2 separate regions of the Homo sapiens genome follow, and region 2 is linked to region 1. Evidence: promoter capture Hi-C in human tissues and cell types (Jung and others, 2019). All regions are on one chromosome and are shown on one strand. Each heading gives the region's core, a stretch centred on a gene start or on the middle of the fragment in contact. The rest is flanking DNA. Distances are from core to core; before and after follow the strand shown. Region 1 holds the start of CHERP (calcium homeostasis endoplasmic reticulum protein). Region 2 holds the start of HAUS8 (HAUS augmin like complex subunit 8).

The links. Contacts are between HindIII fragments. The study calls those that stand out against the background at their distance.
Region 2: the fragment with the promoter of HAUS8 here is called in contact with the fragment with the promoter of CHERP in region 1 in 1 of the 25 tissues and cell types used here (dorsolateral prefrontal cortex).

Annotation. Positions count from the first base shown.
Region 1 is chr19:16,540,888-16,547,537 of GRCh38, reverse strand. CHERP (calcium homeostasis endoplasmic reticulum protein) reads left to right here and starts at 5,101. Exons shown (of 17, transcript NM_006387.6): 1 at 5,101-5,184; 2 at 5,495-5,668. The coding sequence starts at 5,160. RefSeq lists silencers at 5,200-5,389, 5,400-5,469. The HindIII fragment of the contact is 9,580 bases long and covers 3,437-6,650 here.
Region 2 is chr19:17,074,045-17,080,775 of GRCh38, reverse strand. It overlaps HAUS8 (HAUS augmin like complex subunit 8), which reads left to right and starts at 5,324. Exons shown (of 11, transcript NM_033417.2): 1 at 5,324-5,382. The coding sequence starts at 5,354. It overlaps MYO9B (myosin IXB), which reads right to left and starts at 4,999. Exons shown (of 40, transcript NM_004145.4): 1 at 4,902-4,999. RefSeq lists enhancers at 480-1,017, 5,382-5,581 and silencers at 1,030-1,129, 4,563-4,857, 4,852-5,201. The HindIII fragment of the contact is 30,356 bases long and covers 2,495-6,731 here.

The sequences.
Region 1 (6,650 bases), core at 3,852-6,351:
AATCTCAGTATTGAATTTGCACACCCTTTGACTCTACACAAGGTTTGTATCTACTAAGACACTTTTTTTTTGAGACAGAGTCACTCTGTTGCCCAGGCTAGAGTACAGTGGTGCAGTCTCGGCTTACTACAACCTCCACCTCCAGACTCAAGTGAGTCTCCTGCCTCAGCCTCCCGAGTAGCTGGGATTACAGGCACGTGCCACCACGCCCGGCTAATTATTTATTTTTTAGTAGAAACGGGATTTCTCCATGTTGGCCAGGCTGGTCTCGAACTCCTGGCCTCAAGTGATCTGCCCGCCTTGGCCTCCAAAAGTCCTGGGATTACAGGCGTGAACCTCCACGCCCAACCCTATATACACTTAAGACACTTTTAACAGTGGCCTAAAAATGGAACCAAGCCAGGAGACTAGAGTCTCACTTCAGTAAATTGTGGTGAGTCCACACCATGGCATCCTATGCAGCCTCAAAAATCACAACATCGCCCGGGCGCAGCAGCTCACGTCTGTCATGCCAACACTTTAGGAGGCCGAGGCGGGTGGATCACGAGGTCAGGAGTTCAAGACCAGCCTGGCCAGCATGGTGAAACCCTGTCTCTACTAAAAATACAAAAATTAGCTGGGTGTCATGGCACATGCCTATAATCCCAGCTACTCAGGAGGCTGAGGCAGGAGAATCTCTTGAACTTGGGAGGCGGAGGTTGCAGTGAGCCGAGATCATGCTACTGCACTCCAGCCTAGGCAACAGAGTGAGACTCTGTCTAAAAAAAAAAAAAAATGACAATACAGATTCATTAACCTGTTCTGATTGAGGAGCCTATTAAGAATCCTGTAAACGCTGTGTATCTTCAACCCTCAAAAAGGCATTTATTTTGCTACCAATTTTGTTCATGGTTCTCTGAAATCTATCCATTGGAGATCCCAAGTTAAAACTCCTTGATGTAGCCGGGCACGGTGGCTCACACCTGTAATCCCAGCACTTTGGGAGGCCGAGGCAGGTGGATCACCTGAGGTCAGGAGTTTTAGACCAGCCTGGCCAACATGGTGAAACCATCTCTACTAAAAATACAAAAATTAGCTGGGGGTAGGCCGGGCGCAGTGGCTCACGCCTGTAATCCCAGCACTTTGGGAGGCCGAGGTGGGCGGATCACGAGGTCAGGAGATTGAGACCATCCTGGCTAACACGGTGAAACCCCGTCTCTACTAAAAATACAAAAAATTAGCCGGGCGCGGTGGCGGGTGCCTGTAGTCCCAGCTACTCGGGAGGCTGAGGCAGGAGAATGGTGTGAACCCGGGAGGTGGAGCTTGCAGTGAGCAGAGACTGCACCACTGGACTCCGGTCTGGGCAACAGAGTGAGACTCCTCAGAAAAAAAAAAAAATTAGCTGGGTGTGGTGTGCACCTGTAGTCCCAGCTACTCGGGAGGCTGAGGCAGAATTGCTTGAACCCCAGAGGCAGAAGTTGCAGTGAGCAGAGATCACACCACTGCACTCCAGCCTGGGTGACAGAGCAAGACTCTGTCTCAAAAAAAAAAAAAACAAAAAAAACAAAAAAAACTTCTTCATGTAGATTTTACCTGGCATGAAAAGTGCCCACACTCTGGATTACTGACTGTTCTTCAAATAGTATGGGCTGGGCACGGTGGCTCATGCCTGTAATCCCTGCACTTTAGGAAGCCAGGGCAGGCAAATCAGTTGAGGTCAGGAGTTCAAGACCAGCCTGGCCAACATGGTGAAACCCCGTTTTTACTAAAAATACAAAGATTAGCTGGGTGTGATGGCAGGCGCCTGTAATCCCATCTACTTAGGAGGCTGAGGCAGGAGAATCACTTGAGTGTGGGAGGCGGAAGGTGCAGTGAGCCGAGATTGAACCACAGCACTCTAGGCTGGGCAACAGACAGGACTCCGTCTCAAAAAAATATATAAAAAATTTAGGGCCAGGCACGGTGGCTCATGCCTGTAATCCCAGCACTTTGGGAAGCTGAGGCGGGTGGATCACCTGAGGTTGGGAGTTTGAGGCCAGTCTGACCAACAGGCAGAAACCCCATCTCTACTAAAAATAAAAAACTAGCCGGGTGTGGTGTCGCATGCCTGTAATCCCAGCTACTCGAGAGGCTGAAGCAGGAGAATTGCTTGAACCCGGGAGGCGGAGGCTGTGGTGAGCCGCGATCACGCCATTGCACTCCAGCCTGGGCAACAAGAGTGAAACTCCATCTCAAAAAAAATAAAAAATAAAAAATATTTTTTAAATAAACAGTATGATCCCACACTGTTCTCTCTGCCTGTTTAGGGTGTTTAGAGCTGGCCCCTTGTTCAGATCATAGTGCAGACCTCACCTCGAGAGCCTTTCCTGACAACCCTATCAGCCTGGGCCTCACCCTCCCTTGTATCATAGTCTCAGCATCCTCTTCTTAATAACACCTTTGAGATGATATATTTGTTTACTGATTTTGGGACTCTTCCCCGCCATAGACTGAGTCCCCTGAGAGCAGAGCTGAGATCTGAGTTGTGCATGACCGTATCTATAAACCACATCCAACTGGCCGCCTGTTTTTGTGAGCCAGGAAGGTTTTTCAAAGGTGAACATGTACCATCAATTGACGACAGGAAATACAACTGGGAGCCCCAATTAAGTGAAATGTTATCCCCCAAAAGAATTCCACTCTTATGAATAGACTTGGGTCTTAGTCCATTTTGCATCGCTATAAAAGAACACCTGAGACTGGGCAATTTTTAAAGAAGAGAAATTTATTTCTTACAGTTCTGGAGGCTGAGATATCCAAAATCAAGGGCCTTCTTGCTGGTGGGGACTCTGCAGAGTCTTGAGGTAGCACAGGGCATCACATGGCTAGCAGGCTGTGTGCAAGCTCAGGTCTCTCTTCCTTTTTTTTTTGAAACGGAGTCCTGCTCTGTTGCCCAGGCTGGAGTGCAGTGGCACGACTTTGGCTCACTGTAACCTCCACCTCAACCTTTGCCTTCTGGGTCCAAGTGATTCTCGTGCCTCAGCCTCCCAAGTAGATGGGATTACAGGCATCCGCCACCATGCCCGGCTAATTTTTGTATTTTTAGTAGAGATGGGATTTCTCCATGTTGGCCAGGCTGGTCTCGAACTCCTGACCTCAGGTGATCTGCGTGCCTTGGCCTCCCAAGGTGCTGGAATTACAGGCATGAGCCACTGAGCCTGGCCTTTCTTCCTCTTTTTATTTTATTTTATTTATTTTATTTATTTTTTTTTTTTGAGATGGAGTCTCACTCTGTCGCCCAGGCTGGAGTGCAGTGGTGCAATCTCAGCTCACTGCAAGCTCCAAACCAGTCCCACTCCCATGATAACCTATTTATCCATTAACACATGAATGGCACGACCTCATAACCCAATCACCTCTTAAAGGCTCCACCTCTTAATACTGTTTCACTGGGGATTAGGAACAAACATTCAAACTGTAGCAACTTGTATTTAAGAAACTACTCAGTTATCATATTTTGATTTTCACCAACAAAAATTTTATGAACTTTTCTTTCTGGTTATAGAAATACCTAAATAAGGCTGGGTAGGGTGGCTCACACCTGTAATCCCAGCAGTCTGGGAGGCCAAGGCAGGCAGATCATGTGAGGTCAGGAGTTCAAGACCAGCATGGCCAACCTGGTGAAACCCCATCTCTACTAAAAATGCAAAAATTAGCCGGGCGTGGTGGTGCGCACCTGTAGTCCCAGCTCCCCTGGAGGCTGAGGCAGGAGAATTGCTTGAGCACGGGAGGCAGAGGTTGCAGTGAACCGAGATCACACCACTGCACTCCAGCTTGGGCGAGAGAGAGCAAGACTGTGTCTCAAAAAAAAAAAAAAACCAAACAATTAAGATCCTCGATCTTCATGAGAAAATATGAACTAGAGGACATTTAGAAAAAAAAAAATCCTTGATCTTGCCTCCTGACCTGCAGAGTCTAAAATATTTGCTTTCTGTCCCTTTTATACAAAAAGTTTTGTTGATTCCTAGCCTACAGCAACACTTGATGTAGAGTTGTCAATCCATAAGCATCTGGTGGAAAAATGCTGTTAACAATAAAAATGAAACTAATCTAAAATACATGTGCATTTATTTGCACAGAAAAAAACAGGCTGGGTAAAGTAGCTCATGCCTATAATCCTAGCACTTTGGGAGGCCGAGGCGGGAGGATTACTTGAGCACAGGAGTTCAGGGCTAGTGAGCTATGATCATGACACTGCACTCCAGCGTGGGCCACAGAGCAAGACCTTGTCTCAAGAAAAAAGAAAAAAAAAAACGGATAAAGGAAAAAAAAGCGGCGGGGGCGGGGGGCAGGTATAGCCAACTAAGCATTAACCATCTCAAGAGGATCAGTTTATATCGGACGTCCACAGCAGAAATTTGCTGCTTCTGGCTATCTTTTCCCCACAATTAGCAAGGGTTAGCTTCATTATTTTAGAGGCAACCCAACTGCAGCTTTTAGAAAGGCGCTGTGCCCTCTAGGCCAGCAATTTGAGGGCATGGGTTGGGGGGTACCCCGCCCCAGTCTTCCTGACCAAAGAGTGGAGCGGAAGAAAGCCAGGAGGAGGATGTTTTGAACCTAAATACGTCCAGCTGCAATCCCAGTCAAGCTCGTCGCCCCCAGTTCTGCTCCACCTCCGGTCTGGCCGGGGAGAATGTGACAGTCGCCGCAGCCCGGGATCCACCCGGACGCACCTCACCTCGCAGTCTCCTCACTGTGCCCGCGAAAGGAAAGAGACCCTGGCCCAGGCACGAAGTCCCCAGGCCCCTGGTCGCCCGGAGGTAGCAACCAGCCAGCCCATCGGGCTGCGACGCCGACCAAGGGGCACGCCCCGCGCCCCCCGGTCTCGACTAACACCCACCCGCGCCGTTCCAGCCTTTCCGCGGCGCCGCGCGACGGGGACCCACTCTGCGAAAGTGTCAGGAAACTTCTGCGCGTGCGCGTCGCTAGCCCCTCCCGCGCGCCAGGCATCGCGCGGCTTCTTCCCGCCTGCCTCCCGCTCTCACTTCCGGAGTTTCCCAGCGACGGCCGTAAGTGGCGGGCGGAAGCGGCCCTAGAAGCCCGCCGTAAACGGCTCCCTCGCGCCACTTCCGGCCGGCTTCCGCAGACGGCGCTGGTGGTCGATCGTGTGGCGCCGGAGGACGTTCCCCGCGGCCGGAGCCATGGAGATGCCGCTGCCCCCCGATGGTGAGACCCAAACCGGCCGAGAGACCGTTTCTCTCTCCCCGGAACCTCCTATTGGCCGGCCCCGCCTCCCGGAGTCCCCGGGTCTGGGAGGGGGCGGGGCTCGGCCTCGCGGCTTCGCCTGCGGCCTCTCCCGTGGGTCCCCGCATTCCCGGCGAGCGTGTGGCCCCTATCGGGACCCGTACAAGGGCGGCCTCTTCGGGGCCCACCCCCTTGGGGTCCCCGGCAAGGCGGACGGGGGCTGGGGCGCCGAGTCCCCCGGCTTTGGGCGGTCCTCGCTGACGCCCCGCGTGGCCTTTTCTCCGTCCTCCAGACCAGGAGCTTCGAAATGTCATCGACAAGCTCGCCCAGTTCGTGGCTCGCAATGGGCCCGAGTTTGAGAAGATGACTATGGAGAAGCAGAAGGACAACCCCAAATTCTCGTTTCTTTTCGGAGGCGAATTCTACAGTTACTACAAGTGCAAGCTGGCGCTGGAGCAGCAGCAGCGTGAGTCCCCTCCGGCACTCAGGCCGTCCCATCGAGCGCTTCCTTTCTCGGATTCCAGTCCGGGCTCTGCCACAAACCTCTTTCTTTCGGGTCGTTTATTCTTTGAAGTGGAGCAGCTCGGTCCACACGATCCCTGTTCCGCTGTTCCCACGGCCCTGCACAGAGCGGCTGCTGGGTGCCACTGTAATGGAGAACAACGAGGTTTTCGATCCTCCCCCCTGGGCTCTGGATCAGGGATTTTGCTGTTGTTTTGCAGACTGATGACGGAGATTAGCAGGAGTAGCGTGATTGTTTTAGTGTTTTCTAGGGAGGAAGTGATAGAGGCCGGATGGGAGTCCATGGGACAGGCACTGTCCAGCCCCCTTTGCCGTCTCCCTGTGGGTCCAGCAAGGTTTTGTGCATTTCAGATGCCTGCAGCAGAAATCAAAAAGAATTATCCCTCTGAGTTTTAGTTATTGGCAAGTGTTTATCAATGTTCGTTCATTTAGGCAACAGGATTCCAGTCCTGCTCTAAAGAAGTTTAAAGTTAGGAAGCAGAGCTGGCCTTTGAATAATGGATAGTCACCAGGTGGTGCGGCTGCTCAGGGCAGGTATCACATCTGTCACGTTCAGTACCCAACCCCGTCTCTAGATTGTTTAAATGAATAACTAGGAGTTTGCCAGGTAGATGGACATTGAGAGGTGGTTGTCCGCTGTTTGATCGAACGCCAATTGTGTGTTATGTATTAAGGTACAATGACCCAAACAAGGTCTGTTTGGCTTCGGCGAGCGTGTAGTTCAGGGGACTACACGCTCGTCTTGTATTAAGGTACAAGGTCATTGTCCCTTAATACATAACACACAGTTGGTGTTCGATTAAACAGCTTGAAAGGAGGCCTGTTGCAGTGGCTCATACTGTAATCACAGCACTTTGGGAGTCCAAGGCGGGCAGATCACTTGAGGTTAGGAGTCTGAGACCAGCCTGGCCAACATAGTGAAACCC
Region 2 (6,731 bases), core at 4,075-6,574, 530 kb before region 1:
TGTCTCAGCTTCTTAAAGTGCTGGGACCACAGGCATTCACCATCATGTCTAGCTAATTTTAGTATTTTTTTGTAGAGATGGGATCTTGCTATGTTGTCCAGGCTGGTCTTAAACTCCTGGCCTCAAGTGATCCTCCTGCCTCAGCCTCCCAAAGGGCTGAGATTACAGGCGTGTGCCACCAAGCCTCGCCTAGAGACAGGGTCTTTATGGGGATGATTCAGTTAAAATGATGTCATTAGGGTGGGCCCCCTTCCATATGACTGCTGTCCTCATAAGAGGAAATTTGGACACAGAGACAGGCACAGAGGGAGGACGATGTGAAGACCCAGGGGAAGACGGCTATGTATGAGCCAACAGAGAGAGGCGTGGAACAGATTCTCACAGCCCTCCGAAGGCACGAACCCTGCCAACACCTTGATCTTGAATGTGATCTTAAACGTCTGGCCTCTAGAACTGCAAGCCAATATACTTCTGTCGTTCTGGCCACCCAGCGTGCGGTTCTGTTACAGCAGCCCTAGCAAACTCAGGCACCCAGCAACAACAGTCATGAAACACCCCTAGCGGGGCTCCTTCTCTTGCACATACAGCCCTGTGCAGCAGGGCAGAGATGGGTTTTAAACAAGTGAGTCAGACAAGGATATCTTATTCATCACTCCGACGAACCCATGGGCTGAACCCTTGAATCACTACTTTATTTATCATCGGGCTCGGGCTCAGAAAGTCTCGCTGAGGAAATGAGTAGAACCCAAACTCGTCAGCTGCATTTCTGAAACATGCCTAATCTCTGAGGCTCTTTCCCAGCCACGATAGAAATTGAAAGGGAACGGGGCTCTGGGCTGCGGCGGTGGGCTGGTGTGGAGACAGAGCCCTTTGTTCTGCCACTCCAGGGACCACGAGGGCAGAAGAGAAGGGCTTGTCTTGCTTTGCCGAGAGGCCGCCTGGGGCCGTCTGAATGGCCGGCCGAGCAGGGGCAGCCTGGCACAGCTGGGCTGGGGATGCCGGGCACACAAAGGGCTGGTGGGTGGGGTGTGGGGGCAGCACCCAGAAGGGACCGTCAGTCCCGTGGCCCCAGAGCGTCTCCTCCAATCAAGGTAAAGCAGCAAAGTCACGGTCAAGGAGGGGGCCAAGCAGGGAAGGGGACAGCAAGATGGACCAAGAACAAAAATTCAGCAGTATGTGCTTGGGAACGGGCGGGCGAAAGGGCCCATGGAAGAGATAATGCAGCTTACAAAAGCGACGTTTATCCGGGGCAACCTCCAAAGTAGCTCTTGGGAGAGAATCTAATACCTCTAATCTCAGAAGAAAAGCAACAGATCATTCTAAGACGAGGACAGTTCCTCCAGAAATCCAGGTCAGTCACAAGACAAAGAAAAGACAAGGGCACCCGCTGTCCACCCTCGGGCACGTTGCCTACCCTCCCACAGTCCGTTCCTAACGGTTCCTCCTTTTTATCAAGACCCGCTCCCTCCTGATTAAGAACTGACTGGATGGCAGGATTCAGTTCCTGGTCTCTGCCCCTGTTCCCACTCTTAGTGGCAGTTCCTCAGGGGCTCCACAAACACCAAGGACCCACCAAGGCAATGATGGGCCCTAGAGGGGAACCAGGTTTTACTAATGAGCATCACATTTCACCTGGCGGGGGAGGTGATTCTGCCCCCAGGGGACACGTGGCCATGGCTGGAGTCATTTTCAGTTGTTACCCCTTGGAGGGGATGGAATACTACTGGCATCTCATGGGTGACAGCCAGGGACACTATTCCACATTCTACAGTGCACAGCCCCAACTGTCAATGGTGATGCGGGTGAGAAACGGCCCTGGAGATTTGGGTTTCCCCAGTTAAAGGTTACTAAGGATCCTGCATGTTTCTAGAAAGCTCAAGGAACCATCTCTGAAGTCATCACCTGCCTGGGCCTGTTTCTGTATCAGGAAGATAAGAACAAGGACCCTCGCACTGCCGGTTGGCAGAATGAGAGAGCTGGGATGCCCTGTACAGGCCGGGCTTCAAAGGTATCTGCTTGTGCAATCCCTTCCACCCGGAGTGGTTTAACACGTGGTATCTTTCCAGGTTTGACCTGGGGCCAGCCACTACTTCCGAGGAAACTTGCTGGAATCCCCCTTGTCCTAAAGCTTGCATTGGTTGTCCCTAATTCTCCCCCCATAATATCTTGTGGCCCCTCTGTCACCGTACTGATGACCTGATCTGAATTCCATTCTTTTTTTTAATTATTATTATTTTTGAGGGCATCTTGCTCTGTCACCCAGACTGGAGTGCAATGGCGCAATCTTGGCTGGCTGCAAACTCCGCCTCCTGGGTTCAAGCAATTCTCCTGTCTCAGCCTCCAGAGTAGCTGGGACTACAGGCGCACATCACCACGCCGGGCTAATTTTTGTATTTTTAGTGGAGACAGGGTTTCTCCATATTGGTCAGGCTGGTCTTGAACTCCTGACCTTGTGATCCACCCACCTTGGCCTCCCAAAGGGATTACAGGCCTGAGCCACCGCGGCCCAGCTTGAACTCCATTCTTTCTGAAGAGGAAGTGCAAAGTTGTCGGGGGCGGGCATTAGCGTGTCCGTCCTCTGGGTCATAAGGATTCACCTCTGTCCCCAGGAATCTACCAAGTGTCTGGCACAATCAACCCTTGCCTAACTGAAATCTAGGCCCACCCAAGACACACCATTTGGAAGAGATGAGGAATGGGAAGCAGCAAGTTAACAAGTCCATGTGGGGAGAGAATAACGAATCCTACAGCCAAACAGAAAGGGGAGATTCCCACGTCTCTACCTGCTCCACTGAGTCACCAGACTGGACCCGAGGGACGGTACTGCCTCGGGATTTCCAGAAATTTGCAGTTTCCAAAGCTTTGGGAATAGGTGCAATGTGCAAAAGCACCTTCAACACCGCAATTTTCTATTTGGACGATGAAGAAGCGGTTGAAAAAAAATCATTTTTGGATACAAACTGTCGAATGGAAAACGGAATAAAAGTAGGATCATCGCAGCCAGGAATGGAGAGTGGGGGTGCTGTGAGGAGTTCAAGGCCGGGAGCTGGGGGACATGGACTGGAGACAAGACGGTGATGAGAAGAGTTGGGTTTCAAGGTTGAAAAACGCTGATGGAGGTCAATTCATTCATTTTGCAGGTGAGAGGTCAGAAACAGGCACAGAGACTTGACCAAAGCCAGGATCTCCAACACAGTGCTCCCCCCACAAGACCCTGCTTGGCCATTCTCTAGCGGCAGGGAAGAGGCGATTGCAGGGCTGCGGGATCAGAAGATCCCGGTCCTGTTCTGTAGGCCAGTGCAAGCCTACAGTTCAATGTTTGCAGGAGGCATGACTGTGGGCTGTCACTGCATGTCCTGGGGCAAGCCAGGCCAAAGCCACCTTTCCTAAAGGCCAGGATATTCTGGAAGTGAAGGGGGTGCTTATCTTTCTGTGGCCCTCTTTATATTCCAGCTATCCGGGTTCATCTCCTGAATGAGCTATAAACTAAACATAAGCTGGGGTTCCCCAGCCCTTCTGGCAGATCCCAGATAAAGATCCCTACAGTTGGGAAAGGGGAGAAATGAATGCCAATCAAAAGCACCCTGCACAAAGTCCCTGCCAGGGCCACAAGAGCCAGGCCTGTCAGATGTGAATAACTTTCCTGTAGCCCAGGTCACCTCCGGCTGCTCCTGGACACCTTAAGATTCTGAAGACTCCAACATCAAAAAACAAACCGAGTTGGGACTCTCTGGCTGGAAAGTGTCCCCACGGGCTCCCACCTCAGACAAAGAGGCAGAGAAGCCATCCCTTAAAGACCCCTGGCCTCCAGGGTGCCCAGGAAAGAAAGGAGGGCTCGTGGCTGTCGTGCCTCTCCAGGGCTGAGCTCAGAGCAACCGGGGGACAGATTTCCTGTATGTCGTTTTACCCATTTAAGTCCAAGGATGCAGCTCTGCGGAGGTGGCGACAGTCCTGTACATGAGGGTGCATGCACACTCCCTCCTGAAACACAGTTCCGGCCCCACAACCGGCCCTGAGGTCCCTTCCTTGGATCCAGGGAATCCCAGAATCCTGCTAGTCCTGTCTTAAGGGGAGGGTGGTGAAGTTTCCAAGACGAGGACACTGGCACAGAGGGTGTTGGGACTCGTCCCAGGTCACCCAGCTGTTAAGTGTGAAGTCAGGAGGGACACGAATCAAGAGGGGAGGGTGGGGGGACGGAATCTCCAGGGGCTGCATCTCAACATCTATCTGCACGGGGCCACTCTAACCCCTTCCTTCTCTTCCCTCCTCTCCGGGCCCTCCCTCCCTAAGCCTACCCTCAGTTCTTACCGTGACTTCTACTCCGTTTACTTCCCTTCCAGCTCCCATTTCCCCGCTTCCCAATAGCCGGCTGCCGCATCAGTTAGTTCAGAACCCCCCGCATTTACTGAGCGCCCACTGGGGGCCAGGCGCCGCCCTCTTCTCAGACACCCTTCCTTCAATCGCGCGGGCAGACGTCCCCAGATCGGTCTCGCACCCCTTCCCCTCAACCGCACCCCGGCTGTCCCGCCCCTGGCCTTGCCCACTCCCCCAGCCTGGGCCTCTCGTTCCCGCCTCCGTGCCTCCCCACAACGCCGTTTCCTGCGACCCCCCAATTACCACTTAAGCCACGTCCTCTTCAGAGAAGCTGCTCAAAGCCACAAGACTCACCCCCCCCACGCCCTCGAACTCCCTCACCAGCTCCATCCCCATCCACTTTCTCCTTCACCGTCTCGCTTCCACCTCATCCCCAGCAATCTCTCCAAGACCCCCAGGCTCGTTCCCGCCCCCTCGACCCCTGCCGTCGCGTCCCCCATCAGCCCTCAGCTCCGTCCCTCTTCTGCGCAGCCCCCAAAGGCAGGCTTCGAGCTCGAGTCGCCAACCCGAGGCTGCCTGGTACTCACCTGGCCTCGGCCGCCGCGCGCCGCCGGTCCCGGGCCGGGTCCCCGGCCGGACGACCGCCTGCCAGCCCGCCGCTGCTCGAGCCGCTCCGCCCCGCCGCGCCCGCCGCTCCCCCGCGCGCTCCCGCTTCCGGGTTCCGGAGAGGCGGGGACGGGGGCGTGACGCCAGCGCTCCTAGGGGCGGGGCATCGCGAAAAGCCCCGCCCCTACTGTCCGACAGATCAGGTCCCACCCACCGCCCCTACCCACTACCGCCGATGGTGGGCGAGACCAAGTGCGAGGGGAGGACAGGCGAAGCGCGCGTCTGGGGCCGCGCTCTCCACACTTAGCCGGCGCTGCCTCACGCCTCGCAGCCACCCCTCCTGCGTCTCCACAAATGGTCCGACCCGCAAGCAAGGGGGCGGGTCCGGCTTTGAAAAGCCGGCGGGTCGGGCCTTGAGGTGGAAGGCGGGAAAATGGCGGATTCCTCGGGGCGAGGCGCTGGGTGAGTTGGGGCTTCCGCAGGTCTGGATTTGTAGACGCCATAGGGCTGGAGAGGATGGGCAGCGGAGGTGGGGAGTTAGGACCCTCGGGGTGAGTTCGGGTTCGACCCCGCCAGGAACTGCGCGGGCCCCTGAAGACCCCGATGGCGTGCTGCCTCTGCGCATGCTCCGGAGCGCTGACACCCGACCGGCCCTGAGTTCCGCGTCCTCGGCTGGGACGCTGGGCGACCTCCGGCAAGCGGCCTGACCGCCCAGTGCCTCGCTTTCCTCCGCTACGAAATGGGGCCGATGACGCAGCTCAACCTCGTAGGCGTCGCGTGAGGCTGAAACGCGCTTAGATCGGCGCCTGGGTCTTTACTGTGATGTCGCTCTTGGAATTATCGTTATGCAGTGAACAAGTGTTGGGCGACCAAAGTGTCCCCTTTAATCCTCCCACGCGCTTTATTCTGTGCTCCCAGTTTACTGAGGAGATGATGGAGACCCAGGGAGGGGAAGTGACTTGCCTAGGGTAACACACCATGAACAAGAAAGAAGTTGAATACTGACCGAGAGCTAGGCATGAATGATCATGAGGCTATATTTGTCTAGTTTTGTTAATTCTGCCAGTGTTGATTGTGCCAGGTGCAAACTGAAGTGAAATTGGCCAGCAAGAGGAATCACTCCACCGCCCCTTGCCGTAACCGATAGATTGACAGTAGCACCTCCCAGGTACAGGTGCAGTAGCTGAGGCTCGCACAGGTTGTAGGGACCCCCCTCAGGTCGCAGCAGGTTCACCCAGGAGCCCATTCGGTTTGAGGCCACAGCCCTAGCACAGTCCCCAGAGGGAGTCTGTGCTCTTGTCTCTTTCTGGCTGTGAGACTGCCCCGGGGGTGACCTATGTAAAACCTGTGCGTCTTTGTTTTGCAGCGACGAAAAAGCAGGTGTGAACAGTTAGGAAGCTGTCGGGTTAGGAGGAGCCTACGGGCGAGCGCAGCTGCTGGCACCTGGCGAACATTTGCTAAGTTGCCTCTCCCCACGGTGGCCTGGAAGTGTCCCCAACATTGTCTGGGTCTCACTTTGGGGTCCTGGGAGCCTGCTTCAGAGGAGGTGGCCGCAGGGACCAGTGGAGCCGCCTTTGGTGATGGGAGCAGGAGTTACAGTGCCCTGGCCTTGGCCCTGCCCCTCCACTTGCCCATCCACTTGCCCCTCCTGTGTTGCTGGTGTCTGTTCTTGGATCCCTTCTTTTCTCACCAGCTCAGGCTGAAACCCTGAAACCCCTAGTCATCCCAGATTCTCCCTCTCCTGCACCCCCACAGCTGATGAGTCAGCGATTCCTATCTCAGGGTCCCTTCTTTCCTATTACATCAGGCTT